Regions from separate parts of the Homo sapiens genome. Here region 2 is linked to region 1. The links are contacts of gene promoters, found by promoter capture Hi-C in human tissues and cell types (Jung and others, 2019). All regions are on one chromosome and are shown on one strand. Each heading gives the region's core, a stretch centred on a gene start or on the middle of the fragment in contact. The rest is flanking DNA. Distances are from core to core; before and after follow the strand shown.

The links. The method cuts DNA at HindIII sites, captures the fragments that hold promoters and counts their contacts. A contact is called where the count stands out against the background at its distance.
Region 2: a contact is called between a fragment that was not itself captured here and the fragment with the promoter of FIGN in region 1, in 1 of the 25 tissues and cell types used here (mesenchymal stem cells).

The regions. Positions count from the first base shown.
Region 1 is chr2:163,732,615-163,738,797 of GRCh38, reverse strand. FIGN (fidgetin, microtubule severing factor) reads left to right here and starts at 2,790. Exons shown (of 3, transcript NM_018086.4): 1 at 2,790-2,960; 2 at 3,726-3,895. The coding sequence starts at 3,871. It overlaps LOC107985957 (a long non-coding RNA gene), which reads left to right and starts at 4,857. Exons shown (of 2, transcript XR_001739759.2): 1 at 4,857-6,183. RefSeq lists enhancers at 1,151-1,666, 1,667-2,183. The HindIII fragment of the contact is 21,926 bases long and covers 1-6,183 here.
Region 2 is chr2:163,580,434-163,586,616 of GRCh38, reverse strand. No RefSeq gene overlaps it. Among named protein-coding and RNA genes, the nearest start is that of FIGN, 150 kb to the left of the region's middle. The HindIII fragment of the contact is 4,440 bases long and covers 1,709-6,148 here.

The DNA.
Region 1 (6,183 bases), core at 1,541-4,040:
TAAGTGTCTTTTATTCCCAGAGTATATGTAATTTTGAACAATTTAGAAACTCTGTACCTCTATCCAGTGCTCTTTTGAACAGTTTTCCAATTATTTGATTCCAAAGTTAATTATATTTATTTGCATGTTGAATGATTTTTTTATAATGTGTATTTCAAATGAATCTATAAGGGAATTGGAAAGGTACAGTTATTATCTATTAATAAACTCTTGCTGACCACACTTTTTCCTCCTCTTTTTAAAGAGCAGGGGTTGTTTTATTTTAGATATTACAGATGAATGGCTTTAAGTCTGTCATCAAAATACATTGTTTTTATATTCAGTGGGCACTGTATTATATATTTTATTCACTATTTGAATTTACACAAGGAACTGTAAATTCAACGCTAGGATTTAATGTTAAAGGTTGATGAGCTCTGAACTTTTTTAACAAACAAGAACAGAGCAGTTTTGCCCGAATTGCACAGAGCATCTGCTGTGTGTCCAGAGGACTTTTGGTCGTCATTCCCCAAATGGGCAATAACTGCGATTATGAGCGCTTCACAGTTTTTTTTTTTTTTTTTAATTCATCTGTACTCAATCCAACAGTGACCCACAGATATTTCCCTACACTTATTTCTTTGTGGTAAAATCCAATGAACAACTTTTCGTAATATCATTTTCAAAGCCATCTTGTAAAATATAACTAAAGAGGTTTCAGTGTTCTCTGTTACATCAGAATAAAGTTCTTCTGTTTTATTTCGAAGACTCCTTTTTTAAAAAATTCACAGAAAGGTCAAATCCATTCCAAATAGAAATCTCATTGCTTAGAAATATTTCTTAGGATCTCGAATCACTCTTTTTTTGTCTTTTAAATTCTGTCATCTGCCTAGATTTAACTGAAATAATTTTTATTTCTCAGTGTGTTAGCTAAAGGCATCCATTCAAAGGTAAGAACATCATAAAAGGTGAATGGAATTAATTTCAAAGTATATATTTGGCATTTTTAAAGAGCTGCATTTCAGCATCTGGAGAGCTGCAATTTAGGCTATCAAATCTACAACAGAGAAGCTGGGGGAAATGTGAACACCCTTATGAGGAGGGTCAGTCCTCAGCAAGTGCATTTTCGGTTCCAACCTTCAAAGGTAACATTTTCAGCTTGATGGGCTCCTGGTGGAATATATAATTTGCCTCTTTCATTCTTAGCTTCGTTGAAATATAGAAGACTGGATGTCTACCAGGCCAAAGTATAAACTCACCATTTATCTATTAAAGTCATATTTAATGAAAACGAAGAGAAATTATGACCCAATTCACTCTCTTTCTCATTACAATTCCTAAAGAACTTTGCCGGGCACATTATCTCGTAGACATCATGATCAAATGTTATTGTTTGCTTTATTATCTCAGTTGGATGGTTGGCTAGTCTAGAATGAAATAGGTTGAAGGCAATACTCTCAGCCTAGAAGTCTGAATGAGGTTCCCATTCAAATGATCCTGATTGTTTGCGGGTGGGGCGGGGTGATTAGTAAACCAACTGAGCTTACACTGCATAGTAAGCGTCTGGATGCCGCACATTTACATCTAACAAGAGACCCCAGAAAACGTGTGTGTGTTTCTTAAACCTTATGTTCCGAACAAAAGGCTATCTCAGCAACAGACAATCAGCACTGCATTGCTCCCTGGGATGCGAGCAACACACTCAACTGCACATTTCATTCTTCCTCGGCTCCCAGCACCACAAAGCCCCTACTCTCTTCCCACTCCTGGGTCCCCAGATTACTCCATAGAGGGGGGTTGGGAAGGCAGAAGCCTAACGTCTATGCCTGCGCACCAGCCGCCGACACCAGGGCCCCCCGGGCGCTGCTTTCTCCAGCCCGAGCCGCCTGGGGGAGGTAGGGAGGGGAGCCAGGGAGCGCGAGAGGGGACCGCACACCTAGACACTTAGGATTTTATTTATTCACAGGGAGGCGGGGGAGGGGAACTGGGCGAACGCGAATTTTCTCCCCGAAGTTGCCTCTTCTAAGCAGATCAAGTCGTTTTCTGGCTGGTGCTGGGGGCCCCGGGGAGGGTGCCGGTGAGGTCCAGGCTCTCGAGACCAGATCCCGTCCCGTGCGCAGAGGGGGTGGGGAAGGGCGGACGGGCCGCAGCTGTCGAGAGGGCCGGGAACCGGCAGGGAAGAGCCCGCGGGCCGGGGAGCAGCGCGGCTCTGTCCCGGGCCCTCCAACGCAGGCCGGGGAGCGCAGGGGCCGGCTGGTCACGCGTGGGAAAGAAAGCCCCCTTCCCCCTACGGCGCTGCTCCCCTTTCCCCAGGCTGGGCCGCCAGAGAGTGCGTGCAGGGAGAGCTGCGAGTCCCCGCGCGCGTAATCATGACCTCGGGGCCCCCTCCGGGCCGCGTGAGCGCATCGGCGAGGCTGGGCGGCCGCCGCGGCCCCGGCCGTGTAACATGACCCGAGCGGCCGGCCGGCCGGCGCGGCGCGGCCATTGAGCCCTCCCTGCCCATGAATCTCTGGCGCGTCTCTAGCTCGCTCGCCGGCTCGCCTCCCGCCTCCCTTTCTCCCCCTCCAGCTCCGCGGGCTCCGTGCGCCTCTCCCTCTCCCTCCTGGTCCTCCCGCTGCCCGTCTCTCTCCACTGCCCGCCTCTCGCCACTGCCTCCCGTCTTCTCTCCCTCACGGCAGCCTCCGTCTCTTTCTCCCTCTCTCCTTTGAAAACTGATCTTTGGCTCTTAGTGTGAAAGTGATTTGAATTTGGCTCTGCGGCGCTCTGCGCCTGCGCCCAGCCTCTGGCATGCTGGCTCCTTCCAAGCAGCTGTTTTGGGTTTGAAATTCCAACATGGCAGAGGCTGCAGTCCGTCTTCCCTTCAAAAACTTGGAATGATTTCAAATCATAGGCACCTTCACTTAACCCTAGCTTCCATTCATCAGCAAACACATCGGATCGATGCTACGCTAACCTATCGGGTTCTCTCTCCGCGCGTTCAGGTAAGAGGAGCTTCGTAGTTTTCTACCATCTGTTTAAATTTGTTTTTGTTTTATTTTTAAAGAATATAAATACATCCAAGACCTGTAATTAAAAGAGATCTTCAGTTGTGCCGTAAACATTAAATTCAATTTCCACTCGTTTCTATTCTGTACGCCAACCTGCTGTCTAATTTCTCTGTTCAAAGTAGCCCTGAAACATTATAATGCATATTTTTGCTGCTTAATCATTGTAACAATAGTATGGGATTAAGAGTTCGCGATTGCAAGAATCTCGCTTTTCGCTATATTGGGCTTACTTATTACTATCTTTTTACTTCAAAAATAAAAAAATAAGAAAGCGGAGCCATAGGGTGGGGCTAGACTTTCTTCGGGAACTAACTTCTAAGTAAATAAGAAGTGTAAATAAGAATCTTGCACACACACAAAAAGTTGAGGTTAAATTACAATCTCGTGGCTGGGGGAACGAGAAAATGTCAGAAGATCGGTTGCAGAAAAATGTAAGCACATCATCTAGGAGGGGGTACAGCGTGGTGGGCGTATTGTTGGCAAGGAACGGGAGAGAAAGATGTATAATTTAATGGTATATACAATCCACTGATCCTATTACCGTCCTCCCCGGAGCTCTTGTTAGTTTCAATGGGAGTGAGTGAAATTGACATGGACTTGCATTCCTGGTCATGTGCTTTTTTTCCTTTCTTTCTTCTCCTGTGATCTGAGATCCCCTTTTTGTTGATGTTGCTTTCCCCCTTAATTATATGCATGTAGGTTAAATGAATACCTGACGAAAGGGCCCACGTTTCAAGGCAGTGACATTTGATAGCTGAGAGGAAAAGTGGCTTTAATGAAAAGCAACCTTTGGAATTCCTGCTTGTGAGAAATCCAATTCAGCTTTTTGTGCTGCCAGCAAGAAATGATCAGTAGCACCAGTGTTTATGGTATGTCAGTTTTGGAATTTACTTCCTTTGCATCTAAATAGGAAAGACAAATGAAATAGCATGATAAAACCATTGAAGACTGCCTGGCAAGCAGTTGCTCATGATATAGAATTCCTTTTTTTAAAAAATATATGTTTAATGTCACCATGCTTTTTTTTCTTTTGCTATCACTTGTTTGTATATTGCAGTTTTGATTAATATATTACTTGAATCCACTTTTATCGGTTTTAGCTGTCATCCAGAAGTTGCACGTTACTAGTAATGCACTATATATATATAACTGCTGAAGTCAAATAGTATGTAAATTAGTTAAACTCAGTGTGGGTTTTTTTTTTTTTTTTTTTTGAAGGAGGGAGGCTGGGCAAAGGGGAGAGGGCAGGAGTGTTGGGAAAGATTACTAACTAATGAAAGTGTATCTATATATATGTACACACACAGGAACAGGACTGGATGAAAATTTTATTTTTCTCAATCTATTAATGCAGTTTGACTATCTGCTCTTGATGTTTGCACTTTGTGGAGTAATCAGTTCTTCTGAGTGTGGTTTTTTTTTGGGGGGGGCGGGTAAGTGAAGAGGTGTCTTTTACATGAAAATAAAAATTATATTTTGATTGTCCAAAGTCCTTGATGTCTTTTAAAGAGTAGGGATAGGTTTTTCTTCCCCCTTTCCATTCACTCGTCTGCCTGTCAGCGCTTTTTACTTTTAACTTGTGACAGAATTAAATAATCAGGCACTGAAATTGACTTCGTTTGAAATCGCTCTTTCCTTTCTTTACAAAAAAAAAAAGTCAGTTAAATGGAGTGAGAGGGGATTTTCAATAGCTCTTGTGGCAGTGCCCTGTGTACACTTTGTAATATTCAATTAAGACAGAGGGAACAACAACAACAAAAAGATGTTAAAGTATTTTGCATAACCAAAGGATATGTCCACTTTAGACTGTTTTTTTTTTTTTTTTTTTTGGTTGTTGCTATGTTTACCCCATGACCGTTAATTCCTCCTGAAAAGAGAGAAAGAAGGAAAGAGAGAATATGAAAAAAGAAATAACAGTGGGGCAAAGCTGCCAGGGGTCTGTAGTGTGGCCGTGGTCACTGCTCTCTCCTAACACAAATGTGAATACGAAGAGAGGAACTACAAGACCCGTTGCGCGACATACACGTCTGGTTGGACTCTGGTGACTATTGAGCTAAATACACACCACACTTACACGATAGGAAAGATTTGATTGAATTTTGCATTTGGAACTTGTTGACTTTGAAGCGATCAATAAGAAGACTGTTTATTTTAGATGCACATAATTTGCCCTGAGAAATGTTTTAAGGAGGAGAGAGCACAGCTTTTTTTCCCCCGGAGCTGTTGGAGCGAATGGGATTGCCAGATGGGCGATTTCCCTCTGTGATGTTAAAGCTGTAATATATATTCAGAGCAGATTGGGCTGCTGCCTGTGATGAGGAGGATATTACATTTATAAATTTTAAATCGGAGCTCGGACAATGTGCTGAGAGCAGAAATTGGATGGTTTGACTGTTCACCGTATTGATACTTAAATGTGATTTCTAGGTAGTACTAATAATAATCATTGCAATAATTCATGAAAAACATACTGGCATAGGCAATTATATAATTCATGACATTTAACAGCAGATTTGAGTGTGTAAATTGCCCCCCTCTTAAGTCTCTGCTTACTATTAAATAATAGTCACATAATTCATTTCCCTATGTTTAAATGTCCGATGTGCAAATGATGTTAACTTAGGAGCCTTGTTATCATATATTAGAATTCTAGGGGTGAAAGTTTACATACATATATATAAAGTAGACACTTGTGTATATGTATAAAGTGGCGTTACTGGCTCTTGTTTTCTAATTCTTTACTCTGATTATTTTTAGATTTTGTTTGTCTCAAATGTGCGGCCTAAAGGAACCAGAGCTACAAACCTAAAAGACTAGAAAGTGGGCAAGTGCTCACACTCTGGCAGCTCTGCTGTTGCAAATTAAAAGTGTGTTGTGGTCAGGAAATGAAAGCTACAATGTCTCTTTTGAACAAGTCGTTTATCAAGAGAAACATCTATCAGGGACTGCCTTGTCACATTGATCCTCTAAAAGTTAGGTCCGAGGTGGAAGCTGCTTTGATGTTTTTGATCCTAAATTTAATACAACAGAAAAAAAGCAAGGATATTTTGACCAGTATAGATTTTTAAAAATGTTTCCTGGAACCAACAAGATCTATTTATTAGGATTTCACTATGTGTGAAGTTTTCTGGACGTAACAGTTGAAAGGTTGAAGGGG
Region 2 (6,183 bases), core at 2,679-5,178, 150 kb after region 1:
ATTACTCCTTTTCCATTTTTTCACTAGCTCCTCCTTCTCTCTCAACCCCTCATTTGGTTATTCTCTCAGGTTCTAGTGAAAATTTTCCTTTCATTCTGTTCCAGCATCTACATTCTCTCCTAGTGACTCCCCAACTTATATTTCCAATCTCAAATATTCAACTGAGTGACATACATTCTTATTAATCTGTTGTTTGTTCATCCATTTGTTTAAAAATTACTTTTTAAGATTCAGCCTTGTCCCCCTCAACACATCAGCCAAATTAAGCCTGTTAAAACAAGTCAAATCATGGCAGTCCCCTAGTCAAAACCCTCTAACGACACTCCATTTTACTGTGCATCATAACAGTAATCTACAAGGTCTTATATTATCCTCCTCCCTTTTAAATTCCCGATCTCATCTACTGTTACTCCCCCTTTACTCCTTCTGCTCAACTGCCTTGCTATTCTACAAACATACAAGATGCTGTCCTATTTAAGAACCTTTATACTGGCATTCTCCTCTGGGAACACTCACCTACATGGCTTGATCCTTCACCTCCTCCCAGCCTTTGCATAAATGATACCTTCTTGGCATAACTTCACCTGTTCATCACTTTTAAAAATGATGCCCTCCCCTCAAGTACTCCTCATCTTCTTCTGTGCCTCTTTTGTCTTCATTGCACCAGTGACCCTCTAACGTAAAGTTTGGCAAACGATGGCCCATGGGCTAAATCCAACTTGCCACTTATTTTTGTAAGGTTTTATTGGAACACAGCCTAGGCTATTTTTTAATGTATTGTCTATGGCTAGTTTTGTGTTGCAATGACAGAGTCGAGTAGTTACAACAAAAAACACCTTGCTCACAAAGCTTCAATATATATGTACTATACGCCCCTTAACAAAATCTGCCAAAACCTGATCTAACATATCAAAGAGCAGGCAAGGATTTAATTTTTATGTTTTAATATTTTTTGCTATGTCTGTGATGCCTATAATAGTGCTCAACATACAGTAGTCGAATGGTAAATATTTGCAAATAAATTAATGAATCTCCTAATATGTGCCAAGTACTGGGCAAGGCCCTGAGCATGCAGAAGTTTTATTCTCCCTATATTTTTCTCAGAATCCTACTAAATTTTTTTGTTCAATTTTTTTTCCCTAAATCAAATAAAACAAAATAAAAACCCAGTAAAAGCTATTTCACATCTCCTCACTCTTTAAACCTTAAACACGCCTGGCTCACCACGCCCAGTTAGGAGAGACAAGGTTTCACTATGTTTCCCAGGCTGGTCTGAAACTCCTGAGCTCAAGCAATCCACTTGCTTCAGCCTCCCAAAGTGCTGGGATTATAGGCATGAGCCACCACACAGGGCCATTTCAGTTGTTTTTAAACCATGCAGTTTGTGGTAATTTGTTACAGCAGGCAGAGGAAACTAAAACAGCACACGAAGTTCCATCAGATGCTATACTGTCAGCTGCTGAAAATCAATCCACTCTAAGGAATTTATTATACTGCATGTTCTCAATTTGGTCATACGCTCAGCTTGGTCATACTCTCACATGGAATCTGAAACATTAGCGATTACCAGTGTTGTTCATATAAAGTAGCAGGGGAATAAGAGGATAGAGTTAAATAACATAAAACATAGTCACTACATTTGTACTTCTGTAGCTAGACCTGAGATCCCTGCTGGAACATGTCATAAGGAACTGCCCATGACATCATAGGTGTGAGTAGAGGGAAAGGTGGTAGAGCAGTTCAGTCCACTACAACAGGAATCTAAGCCCTCTCCTTCTGCAATTTACTTATGTCTTCTAGACTTGCATGGTATCATTTCCATTTTATACAGAAATGTTCTACAGACTTCTAATTTTATGGTTCCAGAATTATAATTATTACTATTTTTTAGACACAGAGTCTCAATCTGTCATACAAGCTGGAGTGCAGGAGTATGATAATAGCTCGAACTCCTAGGTTCAAGCAATCCTCCTGTCCCAGCCTCCTTAGTAGTTAGGACTACAGGCATGTACCAGCATGCCTGGCTAATTTTTTAAAATGTTAAAAAAAAATTGAACCCAGGGTTTCAAACTCCTGGGTTTAAGTGATCCTCCAGCCTCAGCCTCCAAAAGCATTAGTATTACAGATGTGAGCAACTGTACCCAGCTAGTTCCACAAATTATATAACATCAGTTAAAAATGAGCAAGTGGGATGGATAGTAAGTACCGTGGGTATTTACGGTTAGGTATTTGTTCTCTACTGGGTATGGTAGCAAGTAAATAGTTGCTTTTTCTGCAGAGACTAGTTTGTTAGTGAAAGAGGGCATTTTACTCAAAATTTCTATAGGTCCACACTGATTCTCCTATTGGAAATTTCCAGAAACTTCATGTAAATAGCAAAAGAACTTGTTGATCAGTTAGCATAGTTTAGCCTTCTGGGTTACAGATCAAAGTGGAAAATGGAGTGGATGTATCAGTCTGCCATTGACACTTCTAAAACCCAGTAATATTGGTTTTTTTAGGTCATAAGGCCAAGTTATAGAGCTTTTTCTTGTTCTGGGACCCACTCAAATCTTGTAATGTTAAGCTTATCCACTAAGTTCATGAAAGTAGCATGCCCAAATGTGTTATATGTTTTCTCCAAAATCCAAACGTGTACATCAAACATTGTGCATCTTTCATTGCGTTGGAAAGTGCAGCAAATCAACTCTTACTTTAAGGAGGATCTGCTGACATGGCCCAGACCACTATACCCCTAGCAACTTCACCAGTGACAGGTTCCTGCATTTTCATGGGGTTTATTTACAACCCTTTGGGACACTTGTCTCTTACATTTAAGATGTTGTCTTCTGATTTAAGATGCCCCATCATCATGTTCTGTGATGTATCAAGGCAATAAAGTTCTCTCCAGATCATATTAAGATGAACAGGAGATGAGCTGAGGTAGGTTAAGTCAAGAGAGTAAAGGCATATTGATATTCCTGCTATGTGAAGGAAAGAGCTTCTTTTCATCTTTACTAATGGAGGGAAGGGAAAATGTGTTTGTTAAGTCACAGGGGTCAGGGACCATACTGATTTCCTCCACTAAAGATACTATATTGAGAATGTCAGATGTGATTGATATCATTGCTTGATTAAGTTTCTGATAATATATCCTCATTATTAAAGACCCATCTGACTTTTGCATAGGCCACTATGCAAATGAATAAAACGGGGAATTCATACCACCTCTGTAATTGTTTAAGCATTTGGGGTAGCACATCCTGCTGGACTTTTAGCTTAGTATCTTAGCAAAGGCAGGCAATAAAAGGGTCCAAAATGTAGTTTGGACCTTATTATGCAATAAAACCCACTCTGCATCAGGAAATTCTTTATTAAGTTTTTTTATTCTCACTATACATTCTTGGCCTATAAACAAATGGATCTGAAGTCCCTCAGAACACCTTATGAAATAAACTTGGACTAAGATTTTACTTATATCTGTAAGTCTCAACTCTGACCATTGGACCTATGTGGTGTTTTAGGTCTCCAGGGATTAGTATCATTTAAGAGACTGTATCCAATAATCCCATAAAGTGTGTAGTTCTCCAGTGCAGGGATTCTCAAATTATGGTCCCTAAACCATCAGCTTCAGTGTCACCTGAGGACTTATTAGGAATATCAATTCTGGGGTCTCCACTCCAAACTTACTGAATCAGTGAGACCCAGAAATCTGTGTTCTAAAAGCCATCTGCGTGATTCTGATGCACACTTAAGTTTAAAACCCACTGCTCCAGTGCATAATTATTAAGTAGTAACACGTAACCCTAAGTCAGGTGTAGAGGAAGGCTCATGCTATGTATCTTTGATCTGATTGCCAGGTCATTCCTTATAGATCTGGCCTTCTCAAACTAAGGTCTCTTATAAATTGGCTTTGGTCTGAGAACAAAGTAAGAATAAGTGAATCTCCACTACCATAAATCAAGTTACTATTTAGCCCACCAAACCTCCTAGGATTTTTCTCCTTATATAGACCAAACAGCTCCTTGTTGGACAGTCCTTTTATTTTGTTTTAAGGACCTTGTGATTGAATAGCTGATGCCAAAGATCTCTGAAGGTCAAACTTCCTGATGACTATAGGGAGGGAACCATCGTTGTGGCTTATTATGGTAATTGTGCCCACTTGATCTATAACGAGTAAGCACCCCTACTTGACTTCTGAGTCTCTGGCATCCTATTATTTCCATTGTCATCAAGAAATCTAACTCCATTGTACCATGCTCTACCATCACCTCTGGAGAACAGCCACCATAGAACATTACTTTGGTTTTCAAGGATAATGGTATCCCTCCTTACCAACAGATTCATTTTAAAAAGTGTTGGTAAAGGGCGTGGCCTCAGGGCCCTTTTGGGTGATATAAATAAAGACTGGCTGACCAGTAGCATATAATAAATCAATTCCAGCATTCCCATTTTCCTAAGACTTGATTTTTCTATATTGTGCCAGGGAAGTTACATTATTCAAACTCATTGAATTTACCCCACTATTGACAGAGTCCACATTTTAGATAACCAACTTAATAGACTTAACTCCTAGGTGCTCCAGACAACACATTTGAGCCAAAATCCTGAGTGAATAAACCCTTATCAATAAATTCAACCTAATCCAGCCTCATATGTTTTCTTCCTTGGTCAAACAGCCATATAATTTACTTCCTTGTGTGCTCTCCAGATTCCTGTCAATAGAAATCAATGAGGTTCTACAAGTCTTTCATGGTATAGGATTTCTTCCTTCCAGCCTTGTACTCCTCTTTTAGATTATATCAGAGTCTAATACCCATTATTAAGGGTGGTAGAAATTAATCCTAGGAAAGGACAAGCACCAGTCTGAGAGGCAACTACCTAGACCCAGCCATTAAAACACTGGTTCCCTTAAATACTGGGGGGAGGCCGGGCGCGGTGGCTCACGCCTGTAATCCCAGCACTTTGGGAGGCCGAGGTGGGTGGATCACGAGGCCAAGAGATCAAGACCATCCTGACTAACACGGTGAAACCCCATCTCTATTAAAAATACAAAAAATTAGCCGGGCATGGTGGCGGTGCCTGTAGTCCCAGCTACTCGGGAGGCTGAGGCAGGAGAATTGCTTGAATCCAGGAGGCAGAGGTTGCAGTGAGCCGAGATTGTGCCACTGCACTCCAGCCTGGGCGAAAGAGCGAGACTCTGACTCAAAAAAAAAAAGTAAAATAAAAAATAAAAATAAAAAATAAAACATACTGGGGGGAGGCTGCCTCTGCTGGAAAGGCAAGGACAAGGGATATACCCATTTGAAGTTCTCAGCCTCATTTTTGTCTACCCAAATGTACATATTTCAACACACGAGATTTTTCTTTTCACCTTTCTACCAGCTCCTTTGCCTTGGTATAAAAGATCTAGTAGGTTTAATTGGCTATCAAATTTTCAGCTCTTACATTCCAGCCATGGGCTTGATTCTCAGTCATATCTTCCCAACTTCGGGAGATGAAGGACTCCTTCATTGCTGCCAGTGACTTGATTTTTCTATGTATAATTGCAGTTTGATATTTAATTTTTCCTTTATACATTCTTTAGGGCCACCAAAATAAGCCAGCTGATGCCACCATGTTTACAATCACCATTGTTGCCACAGTGATAAGTACCATAGCTACTTGATTGCTCAATACCTTGCCCCATCCACTGGTGATAATTTGGGTAAGCATAATGCTGCTGTATGCCATGCATTGCCCATGCCTCATCCCCTCCACTTCCCTAGCAAGAGGGTTATCAATTTACTTTTCAAACATGTGGAAAATAATCCCAGAATCTCATTTGAGAGTCAGTTCCTGGGGCCACTTCCAATAGCAATCACTGTATTATTCTTATTAGACTATAGGGAGGGAACCAGGAAAACACAGTTTTATTTTCTCTCTCAGCAGGGAACAGATGGCATACTAAAATTAGGATAATAAAGGAGTGTTTAATAAAGAGATTTTTACAAAGGGTGAGCAGGGGGTAGGGAAATCATAAGAGATAATGAAATACCTAGAATAAGAAATATCAGGGATCTGCTACCACTCCTAGGGCAGAAAGGATAAGGAGAGGGGTGTACACTGCAAGTAGGGAAAGCTGGACAGAAAGGGCCATTTGGTAGGAGCTATGACATTTGGTTGAGGGAACCAGACAGCCCATGAAAATACCATAGAGAGGAA